Linked DNA regions of Homo sapiens: region 2 is linked to region 1. The links are contacts of gene promoters, found by promoter capture Hi-C in blood cells and fetal thymus (Javierre and others, 2016). All regions are on one chromosome and are shown on one strand. Each heading gives the region's core, a stretch centred on a gene start or on the middle of the fragment in contact. The rest is flanking DNA. Distances are from core to core; before and after follow the strand shown. Region 1 holds the start of GBP7 (guanylate binding protein 7). Region 2 has its middle 44 kb from the start of GBP6.

Region 1 (5,457 bases), core at 1,915-4,414:
AGCTTTATACAAGGAAATTTGGTTATTTATGTGGTCTACTATAACTTAATATAATAACTATAATTATAATTGACAGCATGTACTTAGACATTAAAAATTTTAGAAATCTCATACAATTTTGGGACATATATTAGCATTATTCACAAAAATATAACCTAAAGATTGAACAACATTTTGGCAATACTATGTACCTAAACATGTTAAATAATCCTGTTTACCTCTTCTCTGGGTGATTCAGGGGCCCCCTGATCCTTCCAAAAAGCCAGGCATCGGGAAAGACAATTTTGAAACTGAAGTTTGATTTTGGGAAGGCTGTTAAATATGTTCGGAGTTTAAAACACTTGATACTATGAAATAGAATTCCAGATTACCATGAATGATGTATTTTGCCAAAAGGTTGACTCAGAAATATTAAAGAAGCAAAAGCCTTTTATAACCCTTTACAAATTTTGCCGAAGAGCAAATTAGTGCCTTAAGAAAACCTTATTGTACTTTTAATGCTCAGTTTACAGAAAAACAATATAATACCTTTCTGAATTTAGTCAATATGTTCACACAGAGAATTTCTTTTGCAAGATTTTTAGAAACCTTCCACCACTTATTTGAACTTTTAGCTTTATCTTAATTTAAAACAATTGTTTAACCCTAGGCAATAATTTACTTTTCCATACCTTCTTATAACGTTTTACAAAAAAAAAAAAAACACATTCTATTCTTCTTATACAATTTGCATGTAAAACTATTTTAGTAGTCTCAATTACATGTAATAATGGTGACTGTTAGTCATTTTAATTTTAATTTTAATGTCTTTTCTTATTCATGTTTTATAAAATAATTTTTTGAGAGAGACTGTCAGTCTGTCACCCAGGCTGAAGTGCAGTGGTGCTATCTCGGCTCACTGCAACCTCTGCCTCCCAGGTTCAAGCGATTCTCCTGCTTCAGCTTCCCTAGTAGCTGGGAGTACAGGCATGTACCACCACACCTGGCTAATTTTTTTGTATTTTTGCAGAGTCGGGGTTTCACTGTGTTGACCAGGCTGGTCTCAAGCTCCTGACCTCAAGTGATCCACCCACCTCAGTCTCCCAAAGTGCTGGGATTACAGGTGTGAGCCACCTCGCCCAGCATTTACACTGCACTATTTTTAGCTGGTTTATATATAACATGTTTCCCTAGGATCAATGCCATCCTGTTTTCCCATTAGAGAATTGACAACACAATTTGCTGGTACATCCTCAAATTTGCTATACCTTCCTTGTATTCTTCATCCTATGCTCACCTTGGAAATGTGGTAGCCATTTGCTTATCTAAAAGAATATTAAAATTTATCTCCCTTGGAAGAAATGGCTATAGACAGGATAGGCACCGGGCTTAAGCTCCCAAAGTGTCAGGAAGCCTGGGTCTCTGTCTTTCTGGATATTTCCATTTCAAAAGGCATGGAGCCCAGACTCTTGAAGACATCTCTGGGTTGTAAAGCTGGCACTGATATTTAGCCCCTAGAAAGCTCTATTTGTATTCAAAAGGTTAAAGAAAGGACTCTGGCCCACTTGTCTCTAAAGAAACACTCTAAAAACAAGCTGGGGTCTGGCATGGTGGCTCACACCTGTAATTCCAACACCTTGGGAGGCTGAGGCGGGTGGATCACCTGAGATTGGGAGTTCGACATCAGCCTGACCAACATAGAGAAACTCCATCTCTACTAAAAATACAAAATTAGCCGGGCTTGGTGGCTCATGCCTGTAATCCTAGCTACTCAGGAGGCTGAGACAGGAGAATCGCTTGAACCCAGGAGGTGGAGGTTGCAGTGAGCGAAGATTGTACCATTGCACTCCAGCCTGGGCAACAAGAGAGAAACTCTGTCTCAAAAAAAAAAAACACAAGTTGGGAAAGTGGGATCTTTTTTTCTTATAAATTTATGTACCCTTAAATTATACATGATTCACAAAGATTCAATTTTGCCTGGGGCTATTTTTTGTTTGCATGATATAAACAATAGATTTTATTACTTAGAAGCAGGTGATTTCCTAGCAATAGTTCTGTTTTGAAATAACCCTGCCTTACTTTCACTTTAAATCTCATCAATATTCACACACACACAGAGAAGTCTTACTCTCTGCTCTCCATTTCTCTCTCTCTCTTCCCCGCTTCCCACCTTCCTCTCTTTTAGAGACAATGTGCAGTAGAGAATCAATGTGGTTTTAACCAAATGGATTTTCAAGTTTGAATCTCGCTCAATTACTTGCTACCTTGGTGTGTAGCTCAATGGCTTTAGTTAGACATATTAATTACCCGTTTTCTGATTATTTTTCCCCCTTGGACAATGGGGATAATAAACAACCTTTATCTTGAGGTATTTTGATATTTAAAATGGTATGTGTAAAGAATATGGCCTAGAATGGAACTGATAAGGAGAAAACATTGTTATTGTACACTCAGCAAACACAGAGGTATTTTAATGAAGTGACTGACAGCAAGACTTCTTGGGCCCAAATCTTATTTAGTAGCTCTGTAATTGTAATAAATTATTAAATCCCTCTTTTAACATTGTGGTAAAAGTATTTGTGATAAGAATACAATGGGATAATCTATGTAAACAAAACGGGTACTATCTTCATTATTATTTATTAAATGTTAAGTGCCAAGACCTGAGTTAGGTGCTAATAATTCAAACATGTATAAGACGTGGACATTCCTTCAGGGCATTTAGAGTCCTCATTATTAAACACAAATAATGAGTTCCATTTTAAGAGTCTAATATTCAAGCCAATTGAACCTAAATAATATTATATTAAGCTTTCTTATTCCTGTACTTCTCAATGTGGCCCACAAACATGAGATGAATGTCATTATTTTAAACGATTCATTGAAGTTTTTTTAATAATCGCAAGCTGTCTCTAAGATCTCTTCCAATAATAAAATTGGAAGATTCTGTTTGAGAAATTATGTCAAATCCTCTCACTAGCACAGCTGTCAGCAATTTCTTTTATTGTTGCTAAATCATGGACTGTCATATTACTCTATTTATTTGCAGAGGTTGCATTGTTTTTTACATGTATAAATACAGGTCTCTAGAAAGTCTGGAAAGCCCCATGACATTGGAGAGGTAAGGTAAAAGTCCAAAGTTCCAGCAAGAAAAAAAGTGGGAGAAATCAGTGCAGCCAAATTCAGAACTAAAGAGAAGAGAATAAAGACTCATAACTTTCTCATTGAAGCTGCCTTCTTACCAAGTCCAGAGGATCTCTACTCTGGGTAAGACTATGACTTATAAGGATTTCATGATTTATAAGGATCCATTAGTTTTCTCTAAGTTGACCATCCCCAAGATAGGCTGCAGCTGAGCCAGCTACAGGATACAAGTCCAGATGAAATCCTGGCCTCTTAGGTGGCTGTGTGTACCTTAGTGTGCTCTAATTCCTGCTGTGTCAGATTAGGCTTCAGCAGAGGTGGAACAGATATTCAGAGAAGCCAGTGTTCTAAGATTGTTATTTCTTTTCTGACACCATCTTAAATTACTGTTATCTTTAAATATCTGCCTAATAGGCTCTGTCACTTTCTTTATTGGGCCCAACATTTATAGCTCTAGGTAAATGAAGGTAGGCAACTTGGGATCTGCAAAAAGAGGCAACACATTATTATAATCCAGGACCTTATAACATCTTTGTGCCACCACCTTTCTGAGCCGGTGACTGATTGATTCCTATGTTATGGTAGCATAGTATATGCTACAGAATTGGACAGACGCATACTCTGTTTTCACTCATCTTCCATAGATACCCAATCTTTTTAGTTTCTGGTTTGCCCTTCTTGCTTGCCAGCAGATCCTGTAGGCCATTGCTATAAGAGGAAATGGGTCATGATCACAGAAAAATAAACGGCTTTTTTTCCATCTTCTGCTGAAGTGATGGGAAGCCAGATAATTTAATATAAACCTCCAGAGGAACAAGTCAGAAGTAACCAACTCTATAGTGGAAACAAACCACTCTTTATTATAGGATAAAAAAGAAAACTGCAGTATCTATCATCTATATTTGCTTGTATCTTAAAGAGATTATATATTTTGTATCATGATCACATAAGTTACAAGGATTGAGACATTCAACTTAAAAACACAAAATTAAAGCATCACTACAAGAAGGCTTTTCACTCCTTTTAACTTTACAAAATTATCAAAATATTTAATTTATCAAGCCCTGGATAAAGATAGCATGATTACAATTGTGCATATGCTACTCTCTATACAGCAGAGATCAGACAAAAAACAAGCCATGGTTTTTCAAAGAATGTTTCATGCTGTGACTTCATTACATGAAATAATTAAAAACAATATGCAGACTGATATACATGGAGGTAATAAAGAATCAATCTTCAAATGCAGAGAATTCAAAATCTGTTAACATAATCAAGTCAAAAATCAACAGAGTAAGTGTCAGGTGCGAGCTATCAGGCTTGCATGAATAACGTGTGAATGCTGATGCACAGTGAGAGGAGGAAGCCATTGGGTAACCTGAGTCCCACAGTCTGACCAGACCCTGCCCACAGAGGGGCTTGCAAGAAATCAGGACCAAGAATGGGTTAGAATGGTATCTATGTTTCAAAGTATAGAGATATGTATAACACAATGTTTCCCAGGTGAAGATTACTACTACTATATACATGAGCTCAGCGAGCTCAGCTTTGCTCAGTCCAAAGATCTAAATGTGAACGTGAAAAGCTTCCAAAGGAAATTTTGTAATTAATTCAGAAGAGCAAGCGGGGCACCTAGGAAAAATTCCATTTTCTAGAAAATGACATACAAGATGAGCTGGTGGGAATGCAACCTTGTACAACTTTCTGGAGAGGAACTTGGCAATATCTACAAAATTATATACTCTCATCTTTTGACCAAGCAATCCCGTTGGTAGGACTCTATCCTGAAATTACTCCTGTAACAATATAAAAATACACATGCATAACGTTAGCAGAGTTATTCATTGCAGCATTGTTTGTAATTGCAAAATATTTGAAACAATCTAAATGCCCATACATTGAAGAGTGATTGAATAAACTGGGGTATAATCCACATAAAGGAGTAGATACATGTTAAAAGGATTTTAAAAGCTTTCTATGAACAGATGTGGAGGGATTTCCAAATTTCTATATGATGTGATCTTCGTGTTAGAAAATGTGAAAAAGAAAATATGTACATTCTCATTTGAGAAAAGAAAATCCAAGAAGCGTAAACCAGAAACTAACAAGATTGGGTATCTATGGAGGATGGGTGGGAATGTGGTAGAAAGAATAGAAGACCACTGCAATGTGAGTGGAGTGGTAAGATGAAGGAAAAGTGACACTTCTCTGACTGTAACTTTTTGAAAAGCTCTGCATTTCAGAACCATGATGTTTCACAAACTCAAAAAATAAATCATACTTAAAATCAACCAAGATACCAAGATGTGAAGGAGGCCAAACTGAAACACAAAC
Region 2 (5,457 bases), core at 1,771-4,270, 140 kb before region 1:
CCCTCCAGCGTTCATTCTCCAAGCAGGAACACAAAATTGAATAACTATCCCCAGAAGAGCAACCTCCATAAGAACCAAAAATCAGGTGGCAATCACAATACCTGATTTTAACATCATATCAAGGAAAGAGGCACTGAAGAGGGTAGGAAAGACAGCCTTGAACTTCCTACAGCACCTCTCCTCAATCCCTAGGCAGCACAGCATGGCATGGAGAGAGAATCTGTGTGCTTGGGGGAGGGAGAGTGAAGTTATTGTGAGATTCTGCATGGGAACTCAGTGCTGTCCCATCACAGTGGAAAATAACACTGGGCAGAATTTGGCCAGCACCCATGGAGGAAGCATTTAAAGCAATCTTAGCCAAGGGGGAATAATTCATGTATCCCAGTGGTAGAATTTGAACTACAGCCAGCCCCACCACCGTGGATGATACAATAGAAATAGAAAGAAACACATGGCTTTGTGCTATATTTAGTAAGAGAAATAAGAGGACCTAATATCTAAAGTGCTCTGGGGTTCTAAATAAACTAGAAATGCAGTCTAGGCTACAAGAATTGCAATTCCTGGGCAATTCTGTTGTTTTGGGGAAAGGAGGGAAAGAGAACAAAAGTTTGTGCCTAGTAATCCTGAGAATTCTACTGGATCTTACCCAAGAAAAAGGCAATAACTCTACAACTCTGCAAGAGTCACAGTGTCACTGGGCTTGGGGTGCCCACTAATGCATATATGGTTGCAATGACTAAAGACTTAGATGACAAGAATTATTTCCCCTTAAATACTTGGAAAGCCTTCTCAATAAGGATGGGTACAAACAGGCCCAGACCATGAAGATTAGAATAAATAACTAACTTCAATGCCCAGACATCAAGAAACATCCACAAACATCAAGACCATCTGGGAAAACATGACATCGCCAAATGAACTAAATATGGTACCAGTGACCAATTCTGGAGTGACAGAGATATGTGACATTTCACACAGAGAATTCAAGATTGCTGTGTTGAGGAAGCTCAATAAAATCCAAGGTAACACAGAGAAGGAATTCAGAATCCCATCGGAAACATTTAACAAAGTGATTGAAATAATTTAAAAGAATTAAGCAGAAATGCTGGAGCTGAAGAAATTCAATTGACAAACTAAAACTAAAGAATATATCAGAATCTCACAACAGCAATCCAGGAGAAGAAAAAATTAGTGATCTTGAAGACAGGCTATTTGAAAATACACAGTGATAGAAGTTAAAAGAATAAAAAAAGGAAGCATCTCTATAGGATCTAGAAAACAGCCTCAAAAAGGCAAATCTAAATGTTATTGGCCTTAATGAGGAGGTAAAGAGAGGCTGAGTTAGAAATCTTATTCATAGGGATAAAAATAGACATTACCAAACCTAGGGAAAGATAACAATATTCAAGAACAAGAAGATTATAGGAGACCAGGCAGATTTAACACAAATAAGACTACCTCAATATGTTTAATAATCAAACTCCCAAAGGTCAAGGATAAATAAGGCATACTAAAAGCAAAAAGAGAAAAGAAAAAAAAAAACATATAAAGGAGCTTCAATATGTCTAGCACATATTACTCAGTGGAAAGCTTACTAGCCAGGAGTAAGTGGTATAATATATTTAAACTGCTAAAAAAAAATCTTTTATCCTAGAATATCATACCAGTGAAAATATCCTTCAAACATAGAGGAAAAGTAAAGACTTTTCCAGCAAACAAAAGCTGAGGTAGTTCATCAACATAAGACCTGTCCTAAAAGAAATGCTAAAGAGAGTACTTCAATCTGAAAGGAAAGCATGTTAATGAGCAAAAAAAAAATCATCTGAGTACATAAAATTCACTGGTAACAGTGAGTATACCGACAAATATAAAATAATATGACACTGTAATTGTGGTATGTAAACTACTCATACCTTGCATAGGAAGAGTAAAAGACAAATTTATCGAAAATAATAACCACAACAACTTTTTAAGACATAGTATAATAAGATATAAATAGAAACAACGAATAGTTGAAAAGCAGAGAGGATGAAGTTAAAGTGTTGAATGTTATTAGTTTTCTCTTTGCTTGTCAGTTTTTTTTTGTAGATTTTAGCAATTAGAGTTTAACTGTCATCAGTGTAAAATAATGAGTTACAAGATATTAGTTGCAAGCCTTGTGGTAACCACAAATCAAAAAACCTACAACAGATACACAAAAAATGTATAGAGCAAGAACTTAAAACATACCAACAAGAAAATCACTTTCACAAAAAGAAAGACATGAAGGAAGAAGAGAAGAAAGAGAAGACCACAAACAACCAGAAAACAAAACCAAATGGCAGGAGTAAGTTGTTATTTAGCAACAATAACATTGAATGCAAATGGACTATACTCTCCAATCAAAAGACACAGAGAGGCCGAATGGATTAAAAAAACAGAATCCAGTGATCTGTTGCCTACAAGAAACACACTTCACCTATAAAGACACACACAAACTGAAAATAAGAAGAAGGAAAAAGACATTCCATGCCAATGGAAACCAAAAAAAGAGCAGGAGTAGCTATACTTATATCAGATAAAAGCATTTCAAGATAAAAACTATAAAAAAGACAAAGAATGTCACTATGTAACGAGTAAAAGGGATTAATATAGCAAGAGGATATAACCATTGTAAATATATATGCACCCAATACTGGAGCATCTAGATATATAAAGCAAATATTATTAGTTCAAAAGAGAGAGACAGACCACAGTATAATAACAGCTGGAGATTTCAACACCTCACCTTCAGCATTGGACAGATCAGCCAAACAAAAATTACAAAGAAAATATCAGACCTAATCTATACTATAGACCAAAAGACCTAATAGATATTTACAGATTATTTCATCCAAGGGTTGAAAAATACACGTTCTTCTGCTCAGGAAATAGATCATCCTCAAGTATAGACTATACTTTAAGCCACAAAATCAGTCTGAAAAATACAAAAAAGGTAAATATGATACTTGACACATATCAAGTATCTTCTCTGACCACAATGGAATAAAACTAGAAATCAAGCATATGAGAAAACTTAAAAGGAACACAAACATTTGGAAATTAATCAATTTGCTCCTGAATGACCAGTGGGTCAAAAAACAAGAATCAAATTTAAGAATTCCTGAAACAAATGCAAATGGAAAGAAAACATACCAAAACTTATGGGATAAGCAAAAGTGGTACTAAGAGGAAAGTTTATAGCAATAAGCACCTACAACAAAGAGGGAGCAATACTTCAAATAATCTAATGATGCATCTTAAGGAACTAGAAAAGCAAGAGCAAACCAAACCTAACATTAGTAGAAGAAAAGACATAATAATGATCTGAGCAGGAAAAAAAAAGAAATTGAAATGAGAAAAGCAATACTAAATGTCATCAAAAAGAAAAGTTGGTTTTTTGAAAAGATAATGAAAATTGGCAAACTTTTAGCCAGACTAACTGATAAAGACAGAAGACCCAAATAAATAAAATCAGAGATGAAAAAGGAGACATTACAACTTATACTGCAGAAATGTAAAGAATCACTGGACTACTATGAACAACTGTATGTCCACAAATTGGAAAACCTAAAAGAAGTGGATAAATTCCTAGACATACACAACCTACCAAGATTGAACCATTAAGAAATCTGAAGCCTAAATAGAGCAATAAAAAGTAATGACATCAAAGCCATAATAAAAAGTCTCCCAGCAAAGAAAAGCCCAGGACCCAATGGTCTCAATGCTGAACTCTACCAGACATTTAAAAAAGAATACCAATCCAACTCAAACTATTCCCCCAAAAAAGAAGGAGAGGGAATACTATGAAACTTATTCTACAAGGCCGGTATTACCCTGATGCCAAAAGCAAAGAAACATCAAAAAAAGAAAACAACAGGCTAATATCTCTGGTTAATATTGATACAAATATCCTCAACAAAATACCAGCAAAGCAAATTCAACATCAAATTTGAAAGATCATTCATCATGACTGTCATTGCAACCCCTGCTTTTTTTTTCTTTTATTTCCATTTGCTTGGTAAATATTCCTTCATTCCTTTATTTTGAGCCTATGTGTGACTGCACATGAGATGGGTCTTCTGAATACAGCACACCAATGGATCTTGACTTTTTATTCAATTTGTCAGTCTGTGTCTTTTAATTGGGTCATTTGGCCCATTTACATTTAAGGTTAACATTGTTATGTGTGAATTTGATCCTGTCATCATGATGCTAGCTAGTTATTTTGCACATTTGTTGATGCAGTTTCTTCCTAGTGTCATTGGTCTTTATATTTTGGTCTGTTTTTGGTGTGGCTGGTATCAGTTTTTCCTTTCCATATTTAGTGCTTCCTTCAGGAGCTCTTGTAAGGCAGGCCTGGTGGTGACAAAATCCCTCAGCATTTGCTTGTCTGTAAAGAATTTTATTTCTCCTTTGCTTATGAAGCTTAGTTTGGCTGGATATGAAATTCTGGGTTGAAAATTCTTCTATTTAAGAATGTTGAATATTGACCCCCACTGTCTTCGGGCTTGTAGGGTTTCTGCAGAGAGATCTGCTATTAGTCTGATGAGCTTCCTTTTGTAGGTAACCTGACCTTTCTCTCTAGCAGCCCTCAACATTTTTCCTTCATTTCAACCTTGGAGAATCTGATGATTATGTGTCTTGGGGTTACTCTTCTCAAGGAGTATCTTAGTGAAGTTCTCTGTATTTCCTGAATTTGAATGTTGACTTGTCTTGCTAGGTTGGGGAAGTTCTCCTGGATAATATCCTGAAGTATGTTTTTGAACTTCGTTGCATTCTCCCCATCACTTTCAGGGACCCCAATCAATTGTAGGCTTGGTCTTTTGACATAGTCCCATATTACTTGGAGGCTTTGTTCATTCCTTCCCATTCTTTTTTTTCTAATCTTATCTTCATGCCTTTTTTCAGTAAGTTGATCTTTAATCTCTTCTATCCTTTCTTCCGCTTGATTGATTCATCTATTGATACTCGTGTATGCTTCACGAAGTTCTCATGCTGTGTTTTTCAGCTCCATCAGGTCATTTATGTTCTTCTCTAAACTGGTTATTCTAGTTAGCAGTTCCTGTATCCTTTTGTCAAGGTTCTTAGCTTCTTTGAATTGGGTTAGAACATGCTCCTTTAGCTCAGAGCAGTTTGTTATTACCTACTTCTGAAGCCTACTTCTGTCTATTCATCAAACTCATTGTCTGTCTAGTTTTGCGCCCTTGCTGGAAAGGAGATGTGATCATTTGGAGAAGAGGCATCCTAGTTTTTGGAATTTTCAGCATATTTGCACTGTTTTTTCCTCATTTTCTGTATTTATCTCCCTTTGATATTTGAGGCTGATGGCCTTTTGATGGGGTTTCTGTGTGCGGGTCTTTTTGTTGATGTTGATGTTATTGCTTTCTCTTTGTTACTTTTTCTTCTAATGGTCAGGCCTCTCTTCTGCAGGTCTGT

Evidence for each region. The method cuts DNA at HindIII sites, captures the fragments that hold promoters and counts their contacts. A CHiCAGO score of 5 or more calls a contact.
Region 2: a fragment that was not itself captured here is called in contact with the fragment with the promoter of GBP7 in region 1 in 3 of 17 cell types (total CD8 T cells, non-activated CD4 T cells and activated CD4 T cells); the score reaches 5.3 in total CD8 T cells.

Annotation. Positions count from the first base shown.
Region 1 is chr1:89,173,710-89,179,166 of GRCh38, reverse strand. GBP7 (guanylate binding protein 7) reads left to right here and starts at 3,164. Exons shown (of 11, transcript NM_207398.3): 1 at 3,164-3,246. The region is part of intron 3 of LOC105378842 (a long non-coding RNA gene); the gene reads right to left. The HindIII fragment of the contact is 1,918 bases long and covers 2,793-4,710 here.
Region 2 is chr1:89,317,498-89,322,954 of GRCh38, reverse strand. No RefSeq gene overlaps it. Among named protein-coding and RNA genes, the nearest start is that of GBP6, 44 kb to the left of the region's middle. The HindIII fragment of the contact is 2,856 bases long and covers 1,593-4,448 here.